Linked DNA regions of Homo sapiens: all the other regions are linked to region 5. Evidence: promoter capture Hi-C in 16 types of primary human blood cells and fetal thymus (Javierre and others, 2016). All regions are on one chromosome and are shown on one strand. The core of a region is centred on a gene start or on the middle of the fragment in contact, and the rest is flanking DNA. Distances in the headings are between cores, read along the strand shown.

Region 1 (3,341 bases), core at 1-2,500, 790 kb after region 5:
ACTTTTCTCTGCAAAATAGAAGTTACTTTGGTTAAAAGTGATAGTTACATGGTTGACTACACTTAGAAACAGCTATTTCAAAGAAATATAACTCTGTATGTGCTTCTGTTTTTTTCCAAGGAAAACAGTAGTTTTGTCCTAAAGTAGCAGCATGAAATTTTTCATATTACCTTATTTTCTTTTAATCTTTGTAGTATAGTATATGTAGTGTAGTCTCTTTCATTGCTGATGTTGGTATTTTGTATTTTCTCTCTTATTTTCTTGATCCATCTGGCCAGAAATTTATCAGTTTTATTACATTTTTTGAAAAACCAGTTTTTGGGTTTTTTGGAAACCCAAAATAGAATTGTTCATTTTCTGTTGATTTCTGCCTTTTATTATTTCCTCCCTTTTGTTTACTCTTGGTTTAATTGCCTCTTCTTTCTCTAGTTTCTCATGGTAGAAGTTTAGATTGTTAATTTTAGACCTTTTTTCTTTCCTAATACAAACATTTAAAGCCATACATTTCTTTCTAGGCACTACTTTAGCTAAATCCTACAAATTTTATTGTACTGTGTTTATATTTTTAAATATTTTTCTTTGTCACATGGGTTATTTAGCCAACTTAGTTGATAATGTTCAAATCATGCATATCCTTATTTTCTGTATATCTTTCATCAGTTATTCAAAGAGGACTGTTTAAATTTCCAGCTGTAATTCCAGAGTTCTCAATCTGACCTTTCAGTTCTGACATTTTTTTCTTCATGTATTTTGAAGTTCTCCTGTTACATACGTATTTAGGATTGCTGTGTCTTCTTGATGAATTGATTCTGTTATCATTATGAAATGATCCTCAACATTCACAACTACTAAGATTATTCAAATGGATTTTCAATGATTTATAAAAACAGATTTAAAGCAGAAACACAACTTGCATTTTGCCAAGTCATATTCCCTTTATCCTGCTTTACTTTTTTCGTGGCAGCTCTTTCCATCACACACGTATTTATTTCTTTGCTTGCTTTCTGTCTTCCCCAACTAGAATAACATTTCCAAAGAGCAAGACTTCATCTGTTCTATTTATTGCTGTATTCCAACTGTCTACAACAATGCCTGCCACAAAGTCTGACCTCAATACTTTCTGAATGAAATAATGTATAATAAAGTCACACAACTGTAACAACATCTTTCCATGACTCTACCTCACTTACTTCATGGTGAGACAGGGTTTGCTCACATGGGGGCGATTTCAGAAATAACTTCTACACCGTGATGTCTTCTCATGCTGCTCTTCAGCGCAATCAGTATCACAAAACAATGTTGTCTTGGGTTCTCAGGGTCTTAGGAAGCTATTAATGAGATTATTCTTTGAAATTAACTTTTTTTTTTTTTTTTTGAGACGAAGTCTTGCTCTGTCACCCAGGCTGAAGTGCAGTGGTGTGATCTCAGCTAACTGCAAGCTCCGCCTCCCAGGTTCATGCCATTCTCCTGCCTCAGCCTCCCGAGTAGCTGGGACTAAAGGCGCCCACCACCACACCTGGCTAATTTTTTTGTATTTTTAGTAGAGACAGGGTTTCACCGTGTTAGCCAGGATGGTATTGATCTCCTGACCTCATGATCCGCCTGCCTCGGCCTCCCAAAGTGCTGGGATTACAGGCATGAGTCACCACGCCTGGCCTGTAATTAACTTTTTAATCTTAGCCACTTCTACTCTAGCTAGGTTTAACCTGAATCATTCTAGAACAGTGGGTCTGAGTGACACACACCCCTGGACTCCTATTATGAGCCTCCACTCACTTCTTCCCCTGGTGGCTGTTCAGGCCCTCCTACATGATCGCCTCTATGGGCCAGCCTCACTGCTTCTAGGAATGGCTCTGTATATTCCTGGGTTGTAAAGGTGGGTAGGAGTTAATTTCTCATGCTAGGACCCAAGGTGCATAAAGCCTTTACATTTCACATCTCTTTATTGACGCTGTGATTTCACTCCCCCCATCAACTCTGTTCATTCACACAGCTCATGAAGGTTTTTGTTTACCAAGAAGTCTAAGTTTCAATCTACCAAAAAAACTGAGGCTGCCCCTGTTGTCATATTTGATAGTGTTAATTGCAAGTAAAACACTTATTAATCAAATCTTCCTGTCCAATTATTTTTACAGAGTGAAAAAAATTTCTTTTTAATTAATTGTGTGTTTTGGGTGTCATGGAACGATATTTTGGTCTGATGGTCAGAATTCAAACCCCAGTCCCAGCCCTTGAACAACCCACATTCTCTTATGAAATGGGGATAATAACTACCCTGCTTGCCTTTTAGGGTTGACAGAAAGATCTGTGAGAAACGCTTGTGCCTTTACATTGCAAAGCATAGCAGGTGTGTAAATTGCTGTTGTTGCGGTGAGAAACTTTTCAGTTTTAAGGTTTGCGGTGATTGGAATTTTTTAAATTTATTTTTTATTTTAGTTTTTTTTTTTTTTTTTGAGATGGAGTCTCGCTCTGTCTCCAGGTTGGAGTGCAGTGGCACGATCTTGGCTCACTGCAACCTCCGCCTATTGGGTTCAAGCAATTCTCCTGCCTCACCCTTCCGAGTAGCTGGGACTACAGGCACATGCCACCACACCCAGCTAATTTTTGTATTTTTAGTAGAGATGGGGTTTTACCATGTTGGCCAGGATGGTCTCATCTCTTGACCTTGTGATCTGCCCACCTCGGCCTCCCAAAGTGCTGGGATGACAGGTGTGAGCCACCATGCCCGGCCGGATTTTTATAATTCATTAATTCAAAAACATTTGGGCATTTGCATCAGAGACCTTCACTACATCCTGAAGAGCACTTGCCTACAATTCTTAAGCTGAGGAATACAACCCAGTAGTCAGCTGTTATCTTGGAAATTATGACCAGTTAAAAACAACAACATTGGAAAGGAAACGGTGTAACTTTAAGGGAAAGCAAACTTAGGGCCAGTCACCTTCCCTGCCACCCAAAGCTTAGAATATTAGGTATTATCTGTTTAACATGTTTCTTAATTTTTTTAACACAAACGTTTTGTACATTTGGGTCCTGTTTATTAAATACATGATGAAAATGAGAGAGGTAAGATCTGCTGTCTCTTTGAGGAAATTAAGACTTAAATGTTTTACTACTTGTACCTACTATTAGCCAATTGATCTTTGTTATTGCCTAGAGTGAGTATCAGCAGGCTCAAACTGTATTCTTAGTCAGCTGTTAAGGTTCCAGTATAATCACCTAGTACTTCAGAATGGGGGGGGTGGGGCAAAACCCAACATTCAACTATCCAATGATGCTTCCACTAGAAACGTCCTCATTCTTGTGATGTATAATCCTGGTTCATGCTAAGTTTATAAACT
Region 2 (3,205 bases), core at 481-2,980, 820 kb before region 5:
GGGCAGAGACACACACATACACAGGACAGAAATTAACATACGCACACCCACACAGAGGGATGATATGCCCCCACCTCTGGGGTAGGGATGATATCTAGTTACCTCTCTTGCCACTCACACACACGGGGAGCTAAATCTGTTTCTAAACAGAGAAGGCATAGTCATACCCAACAAAAAGGCTGGAGCCCTACACTACAGCCCACACTTGTAGTCATGGAGAAAATATGAATATGGACTGGCATACACCACATAACACAGTGGGGAAACATGGAGCTGGGAACAGATGACAGAGAATATAAATATGAGCCAGGTAGATCTGGATTCTGTTGAACTGCACAATACCTGAGGTGTTTGAGCAAGCTTATTTTAGGAAATATTCCTCACCTTGAAATTTACTGAATGTTTCTTCCATATCAGACACACTGACACAGCAATCTCCCTGTAAGCATAGTCATCTCTAAGTAGAAAGGAAAATTTATTTTCTCCCTCTTAGTCATATTTTGTCTGATGTTTATATTCTTTGTATGTGCATATACATACAAAATATTTGTTTATATTCTTTGTATGTGCATATGAGTGTGATAAGTTAGTTTTGGTTTTTACATTAGAGATATTTAGAGAAGCAGATAATCTTTTTCTTCCTTTAGTAAATCGATTGGGCGGGTGTGTGCGTGTTTGTGTGTAAGAAGGCAGGCCCTGTGGACATTGCTAGTGGTTGAAACTAGAATAATAACAAAATGTAAGTTCTGCTTTTCTTTGTGTCCTCAGCAAATGGGAAATAAAGCGCTGTCAGTGTTGTGGTTCCAGTGGCACACATTTAGCCTGCTCCTCATTACGGTCATGGGAGCAAAATTGGGAGTGTTTGGAATGTAGGGGTATTATCTACAATTCAGGTAATTTTTTTGTAATTTTGAATAAAGTTTTTATTCAAATGTATATGATTTAAAAGTTTTTACCTATATCTCTATTATGCTAACATGGAAATTTAAATCTGTAGGAGAGTTCCAAAAAGCCAAAAAACATGTATTACCCAATTCTAATAATGTGGGGATTACAGATTGTTTGTTGGAAGAGTCATCACCTAAATTACCCAGACAGTCACCTGGATCCCAGAGTAAAGATCTACTGAGGTATGTATTTTGAATTGGAGAAATACATAAAAATCTATTTGGAGAAAATTATGATAGGAAATGCCATATACATTTAGAATATTAGGTGATCATACAGTAGTCTAGAAGAATGTTTTTCAGCCTTCAGGACCCAACATTTGATCATGAAATCAATGCAACCAGCATTTTAAAGAAAATGAAATGGGATAGAATAGAATACAAAATACCAAACTGCATCATACGTGGGAAAAGTGTATCTATCCTACTGCATCATACGTGGGAAAAGTGTATCTATCCTAATTATTTTTTTGTGTACTGAGTAATGATGTAAAATATATTTTTTATTATAGATCACTTTCAAGATAGTTTGAAAAACACTGGTCTGGAAAATGTACTTAAAATGTTATTTGATTATAGAGTAAGACAGGAAAGTAAAATATCAAGCATACCGTGTCACCTTATTAAAAGGAAAGAATCCTATTTAATATAGAAATTTTTTTTTCTTTTTTCTTTTTTTTAGAAATAAAGTCTCGCTCTGTTACCCAGGCTGGAGTACAGTGGCATGATCATGGCTCACTGCAGCCCCGACCTCCTGGGCACAAGTGATCCTCCCACCTGAGCCTACCAAGTGGCTGGAACTACAGATGCATGCCACCATGCTTGGCTAATTTTTAAATTTTTGTAGAGATGGACATCTTGCTATGTTGCCCAGACTGGTCTTGAACTCCTGGTCTCAAGTAGTCCTCCCACCTTTGCCTCCCAAAATGTTGGGATTACAGGTGTGCGCCACTATGCCCTGCCATTTTTTGATGTTATAATCATTGTTTGCCTGTTTACTGTCAATGGCAGGAGTCTAAATGTCAGCTCTTCCCTTTAGAAAGTTTAAGGCATACATACTATTATCAAATTAATTTCTGTTCCCATGAGACAAAATAGGCCGGGCATCGTGGCTCACGCCTGTAATCCCAGCACTTTGGGAAACCTAGGCGGGCGGATCCCGAGGTCAAGAGATCGAGAACATCCTGGCCAATATGGTGAAACCCCGTCTCTATTAAAAATACAAAAATTAGCTGGGCATAGTGTTGTGCATCTGTAGTCCCAGCTACTTGGGAGGCTGAGGCAGGAGAATTGCTTGAACCCAGGAGGCGGAGGTTGCAGTCAGCCAAGGTCGCGCCACTGTACTCCAGCCTGGTGACAGAGCCGAGACTCTGTCTCAAAAAAAAAAAAAAAAGGTAGCAAAATAATAAGTTACTTTCAAAATCTTAAACATTTAAATAAGACTGGAATTACATCTTTATAATGTTGGGTATTTGTTCAGCTGTAGTTAAGATTTTTAAGTTTATATAGATTTGCAAAAGAGTTTTTAGAGCCTTGCTTTACCCAATAGGGAAGAAGTAGAAAATTAGTCGCTAAGCATGATGAAATACTTTCTTGTTAAAAATAATTTCAGGCTGGGCATGGTGACTCATACCTGTAATCCCAACAGTTTGGGAGGCTAAGGTGGGAGGATCATTTGAACCCTGGAGTTCGAAACCAGTCTGGGCAATATTACGAAACTCTGTCTCAACAAAAATATTTTGAGAAAATAGCCAGGTATGGTGGTGTGCACCTGTAGTCCTAGCTAGGCAAGAGGCTGAGGTGGGAGGATCATTTGAGCCCAGGAGTTCAAGCTGCAATGAGCTATGATCATGCCACTATACTCTCACCTGAGTGACACAGCAAGACCTTGTCTCTAAAAAGTTTCAAGTTTAAAACCTTAGAAGATAGTAAAGAGAATTTTTGTGAAAACATTTGATAACTGGATTTGCAGACAGGTAGAATATTAAGTACTCTTTCAAAATGTGAAGAATATCTGTTTTACTATGCCACTTGTGTTAGCTCTACTGAAAAATCTGTTACAAATATTGTTATAACACTTTTAGTATCAAAATAGATGTTCACATTATTTTAAAATAATTTTAATATTGAGATTTCCAAAGACGCTACACCAGGGAAGCTTGACTCCTTGCTCCTGCTTTAACATGCAGTCATATTTAGAAGAATAGCATCAGCATTCCCCTGATCCAGGCAGGAGCAAGGAATCAACCTGCTATAAA
Region 3 (2,943 bases), core at 215-2,714, 870 kb before region 5:
GCCATCCAGTCTTTTTCAAAGATAGTTTATTGTTTTTTTCCTTTTGAAAAGACCATACTTTCCTGTTTCTTTGTATGCTTTGTGATTTTTTTGTTGTTGTTGAAAACTGTATATTTGCATCTAATAATGTCGTACCTTTGGAAATCAGGTTCTCTCCCTTCCCTAGGTTTTGCTGGTGTTTTGGGTTTTATTATTATTTTTGTTGCTGTTATTGTTATAGGTTGTGTCTGTGCTGAGGATCAGCCTGAGGTTTAAACTTAAGGCCTTCTCTGGTCTTTGCTGAGCCTGCACCTTCACCTGGGCGTGTGTGGTGACTTTCTAGTTTTCCTTACATATGCAGTTGCTTTTGAATGTCCTAGTCTTCAATGTCTTACTTCCATAAGGGGAGACAGAGAAAAATAACAGGAGAGAAAAGGCTCTGCCTCTTTAAATCTCCTGGATATTACTTTAGCCAGAGGAGTGGGAGGGTTTGCAACAATGGGGGTTAGTGCAACCGTAATGACCACCACCTCTTTTTCTATACCTCTGTGATCAGATGCAGCAATCAATGATCACAGCACAGATCCCCAATATTTTTAGGACATGGTCCTTTTTGCCTGTTCTGGTTCCTGCAAGCTGTGTGCAAGCTGCTCCAGAAACATATTCACAGCTGCCCACTATTGGGCTGAAGGGTGGGACTGTTATTTAAAATAACGTTATGAAACTACATGCTAACATAAATATTTGTGTTTTCTAAAACAAAAATAATTTAGTGAGAAGAATGGCATTGTTTTACCTTTATATAAATCTCTCTGGTGGATAATTTAATATAAAATCACTGGATTGGCTGGGCACAGTGGCTCATGCCTGTAATCCCAGCACTTTGAGAGGTCAAGGCAGGCAGATCACAAGGTCAGGAGATCGAGACCATCCTGGCTAACACGGTGAAACCCTGTCTCTACTAAAAATACAAAAAAATTAGCGGGGTGTGGTGGTGGGTGCCTGTAGTCCCAACTACCAGGGAGGCTGAGGCAGGAGAATCACTGAAACCCGGGAGGCGGAGGTTGCAGTGAGCTCAGATCACGCTGCCGCACTCCAGCCTGGGTGGCAGAGTGAGACTCCATTTCAAAAAAAAAAGAAGAAAAGAAAAAGAAAATCACTGGATTTTCATATCAGTTTCTGCATTCAGTCTGTTGCAATATCACACCCCATGCAGCCTCTGGAAAACTCTATTGTACACTTGTGAGAGAATATAAGTGAAAAGGCAAACGGTCTTAGTATTATTTTGAAGATAGTTTGACCTCATGAACCACATTTTGAAAATTGTTGATCTAATTCATCCTTCAGTCTAGTACTAAAAAGTCGTCTCTGTACTAATATTAACAAAGCTTCTACCTAATACTAGATGATATCTGAGGTTCTTTATTAAACTAACGTCCTACAGTTCTATAGATGAACAAGCAAATTTCTCACAAAAAAAAACTTTGCTATTAGCTAATTGTTTTAGATTAATATTAGGTTTCTTATCACTGCTCCTATCTCTGCTGGGTGTGTGAATTGAAATATTGTAATGGAAAATGAACAAGCTTTGTGTCCAACCAAACAAGCTATAGTTAAAATACCAGTTCTGCCTACTGTGGCCTTGGACAAATTATTTAATCTTATTAAGCCCTAGTTTCATCACCTACTTTGTCAAGATTAAGTAAATCAACATTTAGTTTTAGCACAGTGTTTTGAATGTAGAAAGCATTAAACAAATGTTAGTTCCTTTTATGTTTTTCCAATCATATACCTTTTATTAGTTAACCTCACCTACAGGAAGACTCATTGCCCCATTATGACCACTGTGGGAAGGCTAAAGTTTAATATCTATTACTGTACAATACCTAAGAAGTGAGTCAACTTGGAGATACTAGACTTGCAAACCCAAACAATTTAAAAAATTGTACAGGGGTTAAATAGCAAACATTACATCAAACTGCCCTGAAATTCTCACTATTTCAGCTACAAATATGACCTATTAGAGCTAGTTTATTAGCTCTTTCTATAAACATGGATTAACTCAAATCACTACCAAGGTGGAAAGTAGACAGCAGGTCACTAAGGAATGTATCATATGTTCTGAAGGGCAGAGAAAAGGAATATGAGGCTAAGATCCACCTGGGAGGAGAGTTCCTTTGTGCCTTTCAGTGGCTCACAAGCCTAAGGATACTGGGCATGGAATGCCAGATGCCATTGAAAGGAGAAGGAAGGGGATGTTAACTGTATGTCTTACCCATTTGCCTAATTATAATTACCATTAAATGTCCTCTCACTTAGAGCTCACAAGAAACCTGTCAGGTAGTTATTATTTACATCTGATTAATGTGTAGTGAAGCTCAAAGGATTGGGTACTTCATACTTAGCTAGTAAGTAAAACGGCTAGTATTTAAACCTCAGCCTGTTTTGCTTTCAGGTTCGCCTCTTAACATTGCACTACTTACTATCCTTGAAAAATGTTTCCTAAAGAATGGCCCTAAGTGTTGAAGCTAAACTTTGAGCAAGTGCCTGCTTCCTAAGTGATGATTCTGTGCCCTAGACCTTTGTGAGAATTTGAAGTTTTCTTTCACCCCCAACAAAACACTCAGGTAAGGATTGGGCTTATTATAACTGAGTCACTTTATCAATTCAGTTGCGGAGTCATTTTCCGCAAGTATTCTGGGAGGGATTAAAAAATCAAAGTACACAAACTGAAAACAGTTTTGATTGCCAGCAATTGTATCCAAGAATGTTAAAGATTCAGTTCAAGCATGTTGTTCATTACTTGATTTATTCTGGGTGGCATTACCAATGTGTGTTCCTGCATTTGGAGTTACTCTTAACTGTAAAGAGGCTCTGATTTCTATGTAAACACTTCAGGCCAAAAGACAGCAATTTTAAAAAGCAATCCAGACAATCATTTGTTTGAAACACCAACTTAGAGAG
Region 4 (3,214 bases), core at 651-3,150, 810 kb after region 5:
AGATGGGGTTTCACCATGTTGGTCAGGCTGATCTTGAACTCCTGACCTTGTGATCTGCCTGCCTTGGCCTCCCAAAGTGCTGGGATTACAGGCGTGAGCCACCGTGCCTGGCTGCTAATTTTTTTTAATTTTTAGTAGAGATGGGGTTTCACCATGATGGCCAGGCTGGTCTCGAACTCCTGACCTCAAGCCATCCGCCCACCTCGGCCTCCCAAAGTGTTGGGATTACAGGCATGAGCAACCACACCCAGCCTGAAAGCCAACTTGTACAGGTCTCTTCAGTTGGTGAAGGCATTTGGGCTTCACCCTAAAACAGAGCGGAGTAACAGAAGGGTTTTTAGCAAGGGGTGTGACATGCTAAGATATATATGTTATAAAGATTACTGGGCTTAATGTAAAGAATGGATTGGAAGACAGGTAAGGGCGCTGTTATTGCAATTTGGGGAAATGAGGATTTTGGCCTGAACTAGGCTAGTGAGTGGAGAAAAGTAGATGGATTCAAGAGAGGGAATTGGCAGGATGTGAGGAAGTTTGGGTGAGGAGGAGCAAAGGGTGAAGCATGATTCCCAGGTCTTTGATTTGGGCAGTGATGGAGTGTGGTGCCATCAATAAGACAGGGACCATAGAAAGAAATGGGTGAGGAAAGGTGGTAGAGAAAACAGTGGGTTCAGTTTTCTACAGTTGGAGTTTGAGGAGCTTGTGGGACATCCTAGAGATGTGTAGGTGGCAGTTGGATGAATGGACCTGAAGTTCTGAAGAGAGCTATCAATTGAAGTACAAATTTGGGAGTTTATGATGTAGATATGGGAATAGATATGGGAGTAGATGCATTTTTTCAAGGAAATACCAACATTTATTGTCTTGGCAGAAAGGGAGGTACAAAATAAACCTAACTGTGAGTAGCCAGAGAGCTAGAAGGCAAACACAGAGAGGCATACTTGGGGAATAGAGAATTTAAAGACAGAGGGAAAGGTCCACCTTCCTCACCTTTGGGTCATCCAGTCTCTAGGTTCCTAAATAATTCAGTGTGCTTTTGGTCAGTAAGTCCTAGAATAGGGGGGGGAAAAAGCATATCAAACCACTGCTGTGTGAATGCTATAGCCCTAGGTCATTGGTCTGTTTTATTTAAACATATCTAGGTTCTGCTCCCTCTGAGGATTTTACCTAATGTTAAAGAGAATGAGAAGAAATACTCTTTATACATTATAAAACTATGCTAATAGTAACCAGCAGGGAAATTGACCTATAAATACTCTGAGCACATTAAGGTAAGCACATTTTTTTAAAGTTACGTCTTTTGGCTATGGTCTAATGTGATGATTAGTGAAAATGGAATTGAAGAGTGACAGGAAATATTAATGGCAGGCAGCACACAGTCGTTTGGCCTTAGAAAGAACAACGGACTTTATCTGTTCCCAGAGGGAAAATTTGATGAGTAATGACCTTGATACACATTTTAAACACTCTGACAATGAAGTAATAGGTGCTGCTTTTGCTCTTTGACCAGCAGATTCTCCTTTGCTGCAGTTAGGTGTACTACTTAAAGCTTGTTTAGAGGGCCACCTAAGGGTACAGGCAGAAGCATCACAACATCTATATTTCTGTTATAGGCAGTGATGAGTACTATGAGCCTCTTATAAGAGGCTGCAAGGGGTTGCTGTACCATCAGGCCTACTTTCCTTGGAGAGGGAATAAAGCAAGTCCAAGGTGCTCAAGAAGGTACACTTTCCCAAAACATCCCACTCCCCACGTTGCTGATTAAGATCTAATGATTCACATTTAGATGCCCTTCCACCCCCATCCCCATCCTGACAACACAAAATTTGAGTCAAGCCTCAACCTTGCTAAGTAAACAGATTTGTACTTGTTACTCTTAGCAGCACTGGAGTCTAAAGACAGACTATGTGGGAAGGCAGATTCTTAGTTACCTCCTCCCCAAGCTGTTGCAGGAATTTCAGATCCCTGCTTGCCAAAGCACTTTTATGGGGTTAAGAATTTTTTTGTGTGTGTTGGGGATAGGGGAATGTACAGCCTTGAGTGACTCATGCCCTTCTCTGGGCCTCAGTTTTTCCCTGTTAGGAGGGAAAGGAGCTGTATTAGGGGATCCTTGAGTTTCCCTAAGCCTGGCCTGTATCCCCTCACCAACTGGATCCACGAGCCAGAGCCTGCTTTAGCCAGGCCCATTCTCTGGTTGGCTTGGCTGGCTTTAGAGGGCTGCAAATAGGCAAATCACTATTTGTCAGTCTGTAGAGAGGAAGCTTATTTGCAGTGGGAACACCGTAGGAGGAGATTTCTAAGTTGAAAATGCAGGTACTCCTCCTCTGGGGAATGGAAGAAAGACAAAGAGCCCATTAAGGGTTCTAGAAATCAGAATGGTTAGATTCTTCCTGGCCCTGTCAACGTTTGCCTATTACCCTGGCCTCATCGGTTGGCATTTGCTTGTGTGAAAAGGTTCCAGGTTTAGAGAAAGGGTGTCGGAGGCAGACAAACCTAGCTCTGTCACTTGGTTGTTGTGTGATCATGTATGAATTGCTGGAATTTCTGCACCTCATTTTCTTTTTTAAGGATGTTTCATAGGCCTGCAGGAGGACTAAATGAGATACATAATACATGTGAAACAGGAATGCAGAGCCTGGCATGGGAAGGGGTTACCTCCTTCCTCCTGCAGTCCTTCTCTTCACTTTCATCTTTGCTCACATGTTATTCTCCCTACTGGAAACTCACCTTCAGTGCTCTGTGAGGCCCTCCTGTCTGTGCCAGTGCTCAAGTCCTCCTGGTACCCTAGCATGCATTGCCTCACCTCACATTTTAGTAACAGCCTTCTTATATTCTTTCACTGGTTTTGCCCATCTAGATTACTGCTCTCTGAGGGAGGTATCCTGTCAAATACTGGTAATCTTTCTTCAATTCCTGGTAAGGTGTTAGGTACATAGTAGGGGCCTAAGCAATATTTGAATGAATGATTATAGAAAGAACCAGTTACAGAGAGCAAGAGGGGGCAGTATGGGCAGTGGGTAAGGCCTGTATGGATGCTAAAACCAGCCTGCCTGGGTTTGAATTCTGGTGCTGCCAGTTTTTAGCTTTGCAACTTTAAAAGAGTTGCTGAACTTTACCCCTCAGTTTTCTCATCTGTATAGTGGCAGTGGTAAAAATAGTACCTTTCTCCTAGGGTTATTGTGAAGATTGAGTAAGTTAGTATTTACAGTGTTTAGAC
Region 5 (3,168 bases), core at 423-2,922:
TTTTGAAACAAAGCAAGAAGAAAGGTAAGTGTATTGGTTAAAGACAAGTAAAAAAATAATTTTTTTCTGTAGATAATATATTCATTAGTTTAATGTAGTTAATTTTAATTAATAATTTAAGAATTAAAAAGGTACTTTGGAGTCATGTATTTTCTGTGACTAAAGTCAGATACAATAATGAATAATACTAAAAAAGTGACCTAATCTAACATCCATAAATAGTGGAGGGAACTTAAGCTAGAATTCAGGTCTCCTGACTTTCAGGTGAGGAGTCTTTTCTTATTCTCCTATTCTATAGTCATCTAGGTAAAACAACTGCATTCCAAGGCACAACAAATCCATACTACAGTATTCTCCAACTGTCACTATTCTTATATTATAAATCCTGCCTGCTTATCAGTGAAGAAAAAAAAAAAGTCAATGGCATTAAAATGTAACACAAATCTCGGCTTCGATACTTTATCTAAAATTACTTTCTCAAAGACATACTTTCTAAAATGTTTGGAAAATTAAACAAAATTCTCCTCTCCCCATCCAACTAATGCTCAATTCTAACCACACTTCTGCTTTCCCTACAGCTTAAGTAATTTCACTGGGAGTATTTTCTCTGGAAGTTCTTAAGTGTACTTGTGGGCCCCTTTTTTTCCTCCTTAAACTTCTAATATCTTTCAGGCTGTAAATTCCTTAAGGGCGCCTAGCCCCAAAAAAGTGCTGCATATTTGTTCAATAAATGAATGCACATAAAAACAATGGATAACTATGACCTTTAATGTAGGAGCTCAAGCCATTTTATTATTATCTGACTTGACAGTCAAGAAAATTATCCCAACTTGCCAGAGGTATCCATTACTGTGATAAATAAACACTATAAAACGCTTTATAAAGTTTCTAAAGACTTTATAATCACTTGAAATAACGCCGCGTTGGCCGAGAGTAGGGTGAAAGAAAATGTTTCCTCACACTAAGCAAATGCCACCAAAGGAAAAGCTTTCTTTCCTGGAGAGAACTGCAACAGTTAGAAAGCAAATATCCACACTCTCCACTGCTCCCTTCTGGGAACTCTCTTTGAGGGTTCCTGCAGAAAACGAACGGGCCTCTGAGGAAGCTCGCCCGAAGGCCGGGCCGGGGCCCGGCTCCTGGCTGACCACTGGCGCAGCGGACGCCGCAGGGCGGGTCCCGGGAGCGGCGAGTTGGCGAGGCGGGCTCCGACTTGCTGACCTTCCCCACACGCCCGGCAACCCCGGCTCCCGCTGGCGGGCAGAGTCCACGCCTACCTGTTGTGCACAGGTGAAGCCAGACTTTCCCGTAGTCCAGGAGGAAGAACGGACCACGCTGTTTATCAGCCGACCCTGTGCCCCAGTCAGCCCCTTCTCGGCGGACTCCAGCCCTTAGGGTCAAGACACCTAGCCCCTCGACCGGTTCTCCCACCGGCTTCTTTCGCGATCACATTGCTGCCGCGACCACCCTCGGGATCCCCGAGCGCTCAACTCATACAGCGGCCCTGGTGCGTTCTCCTTCCCAGCCAACAGGCAGCCCAGACACAGCCCCCTCGCGCCCGGAGGTGTCCCCGCTCCCTGGATCCCCGACTGCCTGCCTTTGGGGGTCCTCCTCAGCTGAGCGTGCGTCCCGGTCCAGCAACGTTACCGGCTGCTCTGCTAACCCTAGCAGAGTCTGGAATTGCCGGCGGCGGCGACAGCGAGGCATTGAGGTGGGCGGGGCGCGCGTGGGGCGTGGCCGGAAAGCTCTCAGCGGCGAGCACCGCGGGAGCTAGCGATTGGGAGCGCGCCCTGCGCCGGGCCGCTGGTCCAAGGCCCCGCCAGCTGGCCGCCGAGCCATCGAGCGCCCACTCTGGCAGGCGTGACTGCTTCACCGTCGAAAGAGCGATGGAGACTGCGGCCCAAGTTAGGATTAGGACAGCGGTTTTTCAGTCCGGAGATTCCGGCCACAACTATTTTTGTCTGTTTTTATCGTAAGCCAGAGTCTTTGGGTGCAGCTCTGGGACACCTAAAGGGCCTGGAGAAATTCAGGCGGGGCCAGTGCTGTGGGGGTAGATGTTAGACGTGGAAGGGACCCTAGAGAGCCTTGACTGTGAGGACTGAGGTAAAGTGACTTGCTCAAGGTCACATACTAAGTCAATGGCAGAACTGAGACTAATAGCCTCTTACCTTGAGTCATGTGCGTTTTCCCACTACACTCAGCGTTTTAAATGTCATTTTTCAAGTTTCATTTTGAATCTATCTCCAGCTTACAAAAAGGTTGCAAGTATAGTACAAAGAACTTTTTTTCCCTGAATTGAGATTTAAATTGCTGACACCATGCCACATTGTCCCTAAGCACCTTCTACATAATCACAATATAACCATCAAAATCAAAACATTTACATAACTCGGCGTTTTACCAATTGTCCCAATAATATTGTTTATGGTAAAAGATTCCGTTCAGAATCAGGCATTGTATTTACTTATCATGTATCTTTCCTACTCTTCAAACTGGAACTCTCAGTCTTGCCTTGCCTTTCATATTCTTGACGCTGTTAAAGATTCCTGGCCAGTTATTTTTGTAGAATGGCCTTCATTTTGGGTCTGTCTGATATTTACTCATGATTACATTTAGCTAGGTATGACAGGACTCTAGAAGTGTTGCTGCTTTCTTCTCATGGCACCCTATCAGGTGGCACGATTTTAACTTCTCTCATTACAGATGTTTACTTTAATAAGGTGATGTCTGTTAGGCTTGTCCAGTGTGGTTACTTTTTTCCCCCCTTTGTAAATTAATAAGTATTTTGTGAGGGAGACTCTGAAACTCTCCTTTCAAGATATTTGTAAATATCTTGTTTCTCATCAAATCTTCAGTTAATGTATTTATATTAATTAGTATGGATCCAGAGGTTTCTATTTTGTTAAATGACTTATAATCCGTTTCTTTCTCTCTTTTCTCTCTCTCTTTTTTTTTTTTTTTTTCTTGAGACAGGGCCTCCTTTGTTGCCCAGGCCGGAGTGCAGTGGCTATTCACAGGTCGATAATGCAATCATGGTGCACACTACAGCCTTGAACTTCTGGGCTCATGTGATCCTTCTGCCTCAGCCTCCCAGGTAAGTAGCTGAGACTGCAGGCATGCACACCACCACACCAGCCAATATTCTGTCTCTATCATTATTTATTTTGATGC
Region 6 (3,010 bases), core at 287-2,786, 830 kb after region 5:
TTTTGTGAGGAGTACTGCAAATCATACCACAAAGGGTATGAAACCCTAGCTTGTGGGGCAGGGAGGGTGAGCTAGATTGTTTCTTCTTGGATTAATACCAGACATATTTCCCTTGGTGGAGATCCATTCTTCTCTGTGTGGGAATGTTTAACGTTCACACTGTTAGGTGAGGGTCTCGTTCAGATAATTTTTTTAAAATGCACATTTTAAAACTTATCTTAAAAAAATCCACAAACCCAACAAAATATTTCTTTTTTCATGATGACTTATTCAGAAATTTGAAAGGCCAAAAGCCTTTTTGATGTATGTGAGAGCTTTCTCTGTCATATGGGGTCTACCAGTCATTTCAGCAAAGAGTTAAGTGAGGCCAAGGAGGCTTCCCTGGCAGCTTGGAAGCTTTGTGCAGCAGCCAAGCCGCGGGCTGAGAGAGGTGGATACTCATTTGTTTGTATATAAAACTTTCATTCCCAAAGTCTTAGATATCACATACAAGGAAAGATGATTGTGAAAATCAGTGATAAACTCAAGTATTTCTCGCCTGTTATGATTGCATTTGTTGTATCCGATTCTGCCTGACAGTATTTGCCACTTGATTGTCTAAACAGAGTTTTAACTGGTAGCAGGGTGAGCATTAATTATTCACATCTAGCAGCTGGCATAAATATGATTGTGTAGGCCCATGTATGTTAATGAGTCTTACAATAAAGCCTTTCGCTTGGAGATCTTCAGCCCTCCCTTCTTTTTGTACCATTTGTGAACTTCATTCTGGAATTGTGTGGCTTGGTAAGGTATAATGTTCTTTGCTTCTGAGGAACTGTGCTGAGGGCTTGTGCAGAGAGTGGCCCATCTAGAAATGTCTCTCAGGACCCTGAAGGCTCCCTTGTTTCCTTTTCCTGTTTCCAGTCGGGCTACAGCAACTGGGTCTGGATATAGCAACAGCACCCCCTAGTGTATTATAGGGTGAGCATGGGTTCCTGGTTAACTCAGTAAGGTGAGGTGTTCTGGCTTCATAGAGTGGAGTGTGAGAAACTGGCAACTTGGCATTTATTAAACAATATAGTTGAGGCTAAATATGCAACAGCAGCATGTCTTCCAGGTTTTGACAGCTGAGAAAGGAAGATAAAGACAGCAGGAAGATAGGGTTTTAGATTACTTTACAAGGATATGAAGGCTAAGGAGAGCCACAGGAGGGAATCAAGAGGTCACTGGGGAAGGGAGCTGTTCCAATGAATAGTTTGCTATTCTTCCAAAGAATCCAAATCTTGGCCATATGTGCAGAAAGGCCTGGCCACAAAGGCCTTCCATTGTTGGCTGAGACTGGAGACCTGCGATGGGGGTTCAAAGCCTTTTGTTAGATGTGAAACTGAAATTCCAAACACTCCAAGCAGTGACTTAAAGGCTACGAAAGTATAAATGACAGGTAGATATTTACCTCAGAACATAGTTTTGATTAAGGAAACTAGACCTTAAGAGAACAAAATGGGGGTGGGGATGGACTATAGAGAGAAGAAAAGAGGGATGCTTTCTTCATTTTGTTCATTTAACGAATATTTGCTGTTGAGCTGCTATTCAGTGCCAGCTTCTATTCTACATACTGGAAATACAGATGTGAATAAAACAGAGTTTCTCTCCTCATGCAGCTTACATTCTTTACAGTTGCCAATAAGCGGGTCACTACAGATCAGTTCTTATGTTTGTATTTTTGAAGTGTGATTTATTTACAGGCAGAATGTGATTTGAGGACATGGAAAGTACCCATCGTTCAAAATTGTTCCCCACCAACCAACCAGTTTTTTTCTGAAATTTCTCAACCAAAACCCCTTGTTAGTTGTTTTCTGAGAGGAGTAGTAATGAATCCAGTTGCTTTGACCTACACTTACTTCTAGTGAAAATGAATGACCTGATGAGACCTAGAGGGATGGGACACTGGGGGGTGGAATTACAATATTGGGACTAGCAAGCTGTAGCCTTGGTGAGTTTGTTTCAGGACCAAGTTTTCCTTATCTATAGAAGTAGCTGTATTCCTGTCAGGTCCCTTCTAGCTCTTATTCTATTTTGTGTGGCAGATAGCATCCAAGAAGATGTAGGACCGGGTGCGGTGGCTCACACCTGTAATCCCAGCACTTTGGGAGGCCGAGGCAGGCGGATCATCTGGGGTCAGGAGTTTGAGACCAGCCTGACCAACATGGAGAAACCCCGTCTCTACTACAAACACAAAATTAGCCGGGCGTGGTGGTGCATGCTTGTAATCCCAGCTACTTGGGAGGCTGAGACAGGGGAATTGCTTGAACTCGGGAGGCGGAAGTTGCAGTGAGCCAAGATTGTGCCATCGCACTCCAGCCTGGGTAACAAGAGCGAAACTCCATCTCAAAAAAAAAAAAAAAAAAAGAAGGTGTGTAGAGCATGGGGCACCCCTGGGACCCCTGGAAAATTATTTGGGGGTAGGAGTAGGACCAGATTAGACACTGAAAAAAAACATGGAGAAGGAACATGATTTGACAGTCAAATTTAGGCTATTTAAAAAAATATTTCTAGGGCATTTATTCTTGGGTTCAATTTCTGACTATAAATTATCTGGAAGGGAGGGTGATACTATGAATATGGTTTTTGCAGATTTTTTGGGAAAGCCCAGTTGGTTTTACTTTTGTGGGTCAAATTAGTTTTGAAGATTATCTATAAAGCTTTCAGTGATAGACCTGACCCCCAAGCCACAGCTGCTTAAATAGCTGTGTGCTGTGGATTTTCTTGTTGTGCAGTGTTTCCTTTTAACTTTCCTGTTCAGGGCAGAAACAGAGTAATGCAGGCCCATATTCTTTGAATCCTAGAGAGCAAGTGACCTACTTACTATTGTACCTGAAATATTCAACTAGAGTATATTTTAGGAAATACTTTTTCAGCTTTAAACATGACTTTGCTTCTGTGAATAAACACTTCAATCGAGAGACACTGACAGGTATTCTGGGCTGTTCTCCTGACCCGTTGTGTAACTTTGGATACTGTATGACTTTTC
Region 7 (3,346 bases), core at 678-3,177, 850 kb before region 5:
GACCTTCTGGTTCAGTGTTGACTACAAGTGGTGGAAGTGTGTATCTTTGTTTTGTTCCAGATCTTAGGTGGAAAGTGTGCAGTCTTTCACTGATAATTATGTTAATTACAGGTTTTTCCATAGATGCTGAGGAAGTTCCCTTATATTCCTAAATGTTTGAGTGTTTTTATCATCAATGAGTTGTATTTTGTCAAATGCTTTTTCTGCATCTATTGAGATGAGCATGTGACCTTTTCCTTTTTCTCTATTAGTATGGTATATTATATTGGTTGATTTCCATATGCTGAACCACCTTTGCATTTCTGGGATAAATCCCACTTGGTTATGGTACAAAATTTTCTTTATCAGAATCAGTTTGCTGGTAGTTTGTTAAGGATATTTGCATCTATGTTCATAAGAGATAATTGGCTTGTAGTTTTATTTTCTGTGATGTCTTTTTCTGGCTTTGGTATCGGGGTATTGGTGGCTTCATAAAATGAGTTAGGAAGTGTCATAATATCTTTTGGAGGGGTTTGAGAAAGATTGGTGCCAATTTTTCTTCAAAGGTTTAATAGGGTTCACCAGTGAACCCATCTGGGCTAGGACTTTATTCGTTGGGAGGTTCTTCATTAGTGATTCAATCTCTTGTTTGTAGATTTGTTGAAATTTTCTATTTCTTCTTGTCACTTTTGTTATTTGTTTAACCTATTGTTTAATTTGTTAACTTTTAACTTCTTAGAGTACAATTGTTCATAATAGTCTCATTTAATTCTTTTTATTTGTATTAGGTCTGTAGCAGTGTCCCACTTTCATTTCTTCTGATTTAGTAATTTGAGTCTTCTCTTTTTTTTCTCTGGGTCATCTAACTAAACGTTTTCAATTTTGTCGATCTTCTCAAGCAATTTTTATTTTATTGATTCTCAATTTAAAAATTTTTTTATTACATTATCTGGACTCTAAATTATTTCCTTCCTTCTGCTAGCTTTGGGTTTAGTTTGGTCTTTTTCTAGTTTCTTTGGGCATATAGTTGGGTCATTGTTTTGGGGGCTTGATTTTATTTGTCTCTAAGTATTTTCTAATTTCCCTTGTGATTTCTTTTTTGACTTTTTGTCTATTTAAAGTTGTTATTTAATCTCCATATGTTTCTCAGTTTTCCAGTTTTCCTTTTATTGATTTCTAGTTTCATTCCATAGTCATTGGAGAGGATATTTTGTGTGATTTCAGTCTTGTAAAATGTATTATTTTGTGGTCTAACATGGTATATCCATGGATATTGTTCCACGTGCATTTGAGAAGAATGTTTCATTCTGTTGTAGGGTGGAGTGTTCTGTATATGTTAAGTCTAAACTATTTCTCCTTTCATTTCTGTCAAATTTTGCCTTGTATATTTTGGGGCTCTTATTAGGTGGGTTTGTGTTTATAATTGTCATGTCTTCTTGATGGATTGAACTTTTTAGTCAGTCTTTAATGTCCTTTGAGTCCTGTAACAATCTTCAACTTAAAGCCTGTTTTGTCTGACATTAGTATAAACACCCAAGCTTACTTTTGATTACTGTTTGTATGAAGTATCTTATTCTGTCATTTTACTTTCCATCTATTTGTGTTTTGATATCTATAGCTTGACCCTAGTAGATAGTGTATGTATGGATTTTAAAAAAATTCATTCTGTCAACCTTTGCCTTTTAATTGGAGCGTGTAATTCATTTACATTTAATTACTGTTAAGGAAGGATTTCTGACATTTTAGTATTTGTTTTCTAAATACTATCTTTCTGTTCCTCATTTCCTTCCTTATTGCCTTTTGTTTAATTGATTTGTATAGTGTACCATTTTGATTCCCTTCTCATTACCTTTTCTGCACATATTTTTTAGTTATATTCTTAGTGGCTATCTTGGGGATTACAATTAATATCTTAAACTTATAACAACCTAGTTTGAATTAATACCCACTCAGCTTTCATAGTATACAAAAATTACACTTCTGTATATCTCATCCTTCTTCCTAAATGTTATTGTGTCAAATTACATTTTATATTTTTTGCTTATTTTACATTTATACATAATGTGCCCAATAACATTGATTTATATTTATTTTACGTGTTTTTCTTTTAAATCATAAAGGAAAAAGAGAATTACCAAAAGTGCAATAATACTACTGGCTTTTATATTTACTTCTGTAATTACCTTTACTGGTGTTTTTATTTCCTCGTATGGCTTTGACTTACTGTCTGGTGTCCCATTAGCATCTCTAGTAGGACAGATCTACTAAAAGTTTCCCTTTCACCCTAGACCCCAGGTCTACCAGACCTTCTGAGAAACAGCCATTCTTGTCTGTCTCCTGGATGATTTTCCAGAGAATATAAGCTTTTAAGAAACTTTTTATTGAGGTATAATATATATGCCAAATATATTTTAAGTACATAATTATGTTCATTGTAAAAAGTCAAACAATGCCAAAATTTATAAGAAATTAAAAGAAAAAGCCCCTACCCCTTCTCTCTCCCCAGGGATAACCACCATTAACAGTTAGGGACCTAAAAACTTTATGGTCTTTCTTGATCTCAGAAACTTCTGATCTTTCTGAATTCCTTTCACCCTTCCTTCTCTCCATCGAATTACTTCTCCTGCTTTGCATATAAGAACCCTAATAGGTAGGTATTATCATCTCCATTGGACACAAGGCAGAGCAAGGAGTTCAAACACAGAAAATGTATAATTCAAGTGTAATGTTCTTTCTGCCATGTTCCTCTGCCTGGGTCCTGCCTGGAATCTTAAAAGTTTAATTGCTCTGTCACATAAGGTAGCAGATACATTGTCCTGTTAAAATATAATTAAGGCCTTATTTTTTAGACAGGAGAAGACCTGGTTCTGTGGGAGTTGTGACAGAATAGCCTTTATTGCCTGAACTGTAGTAAAAAAGATGCCACCTGCTTTAAGAAGGGTACTTTGGATTGGGCTGGTTATTTAGAGCCTGACTTGGTCAGTGGAAGGGGCTAGGACTGGAATAAGACCTGCCCACGAAGTCAGGGTTAGGACCAGCTGGTGAAGGGGGGGGATTATATTACTTACTATCTGATAATCCAATCCAAGGAGATTTATATAATCCAACCAAATGGCAGAATCAGCAAGAGCAACTTCCAGAAGAAATTCCTGACATTCCCCAAACATCCCAGGCTTTCACACACTGTTGTACCTTTGCACACACTCTACTTAGAATGCTTTTTCTGCCTTGTCTGCTCAGAATATTTATTTTTCACAATTACGTTATAATATCACCACCTCTGTAAGGCTACACTGCATGTGTGTGAAATATTTGTTTACTTGCCTGCCTCCCATGTGAGTATGTGTACTCATCTTCACTTTTGAAA

The links. Contacts are between HindIII fragments. The CHiCAGO score rates a contact against its expected background, and 5 or more counts as called.
Region 1: a fragment that was not itself captured here is called in contact with the fragment with the promoter of HEATR5A in region 5 in 4 of 17 cell types (activated CD4 T cells, non-activated CD4 T cells, total B cells and 1 more); the score reaches 7.7 in activated CD4 T cells.
Region 2: a fragment that was not itself captured here is called in contact with the fragment with the promoter of HEATR5A in region 5 in 1 of 17 cell types (activated CD4 T cells); the score reaches 6.5 in activated CD4 T cells.
Region 3: a contact is called between a fragment that was not itself captured here and the fragment with the promoter of HEATR5A in region 5, in 2 of 17 cell types (total CD8 T cells and activated CD4 T cells). The highest score is 5.2, in total CD8 T cells.
Region 4: a contact is called between a fragment that was not itself captured here and the fragment with the promoter of HEATR5A in region 5, in 1 of 17 cell types (activated CD4 T cells). The highest score is 5.3, in activated CD4 T cells.
Region 6: a contact is called between a fragment that was not itself captured here and the fragment with the promoter of HEATR5A in region 5, in 11 of 17 cell types (M0 macrophages, total B cells, total CD4 T cells and 8 more). The highest score is 8.4, in M0 macrophages.
Region 7: a contact is called between a fragment that was not itself captured here and the fragment with the promoter of HEATR5A in region 5, in 2 of 17 cell types (naive CD4 T cells and activated CD4 T cells). The highest score is 5.8, in naive CD4 T cells.

Annotation. Positions count from the first base shown.
Region 1 is chr14:32,209,441-32,212,781 of GRCh38, forward strand. No RefSeq gene overlaps it. Among named protein-coding and RNA genes, the nearest start is that of RNU6-8, 7.8 kb to the left of the region's middle. The HindIII fragment of the contact is 3,413 bases long and covers 1-2,957 here.
Region 2 is chr14:30,601,002-30,604,206 of GRCh38, forward strand. It overlaps G2E3 (G2/M-phase specific E3 ubiquitin protein ligase), which reads left to right. Exons shown (of 15, transcript NM_017769.5): 9 at 769-893; 10 at 998-1,130. Among named protein-coding and RNA genes, the nearest start is that of SCFD1, 20 kb to the right of the region's middle. The HindIII fragment of the contact is 2,745 bases long and covers 359-3,103 here.
Region 3 is chr14:30,548,668-30,551,610 of GRCh38, forward strand. All of the region lies in intron 3 of G2E3-AS1 (G2E3 antisense RNA 1), which reads right to left. Among named protein-coding and RNA genes, the nearest start is that of G2E3, 9.0 kb to the right of the region's middle. The HindIII fragment of the contact is 198 bases long and covers 1,366-1,563 here.
Region 4 is chr14:32,228,918-32,232,131 of GRCh38, forward strand. No RefSeq gene overlaps it. Among named protein-coding and RNA genes, the nearest start is that of RNU6-8, 27 kb to the left of the region's middle. The HindIII fragment of the contact is 712 bases long and covers 1,545-2,256 here.
Region 5 is chr14:31,418,878-31,422,045 of GRCh38, forward strand. It overlaps HEATR5A (HEAT repeat containing 5A), which reads right to left and starts at 1,673. Exons shown (of 36, transcript NM_015473.4): 1 at 1,595-1,673. It overlaps HEATR5A-DT (HEATR5A divergent transcript), which reads left to right and starts at 1,881. Exons shown (of 4, transcript NR_110045.1): 1 at 1,881-2,100; 2 at 2,967-3,091. RefSeq lists a silencer at 1,134-1,253 and enhancers at 1,364-1,413, 1,844-1,993. The HindIII fragment of the contact is 6,619 bases long and covers 986-3,168 here.
Region 6 is chr14:32,251,329-32,254,338 of GRCh38, forward strand. No RefSeq gene overlaps it. Among named protein-coding and RNA genes, the nearest start is that of RNU6-8, 50 kb to the left of the region's middle. The HindIII fragment of the contact is 2,285 bases long and covers 395-2,679 here.
Region 7 is chr14:30,566,717-30,570,062 of GRCh38, forward strand. All of the region lies in intron 1 of G2E3 (G2/M-phase specific E3 ubiquitin protein ligase), which reads left to right. The region is part of intron 2 of G2E3-AS1 (G2E3 antisense RNA 1); the gene reads right to left. Among named protein-coding and RNA genes, the nearest start is that of G2E3-AS1, 9.0 kb to the right of the region's middle. The HindIII fragment of the contact is 825 bases long and covers 1,516-2,340 here.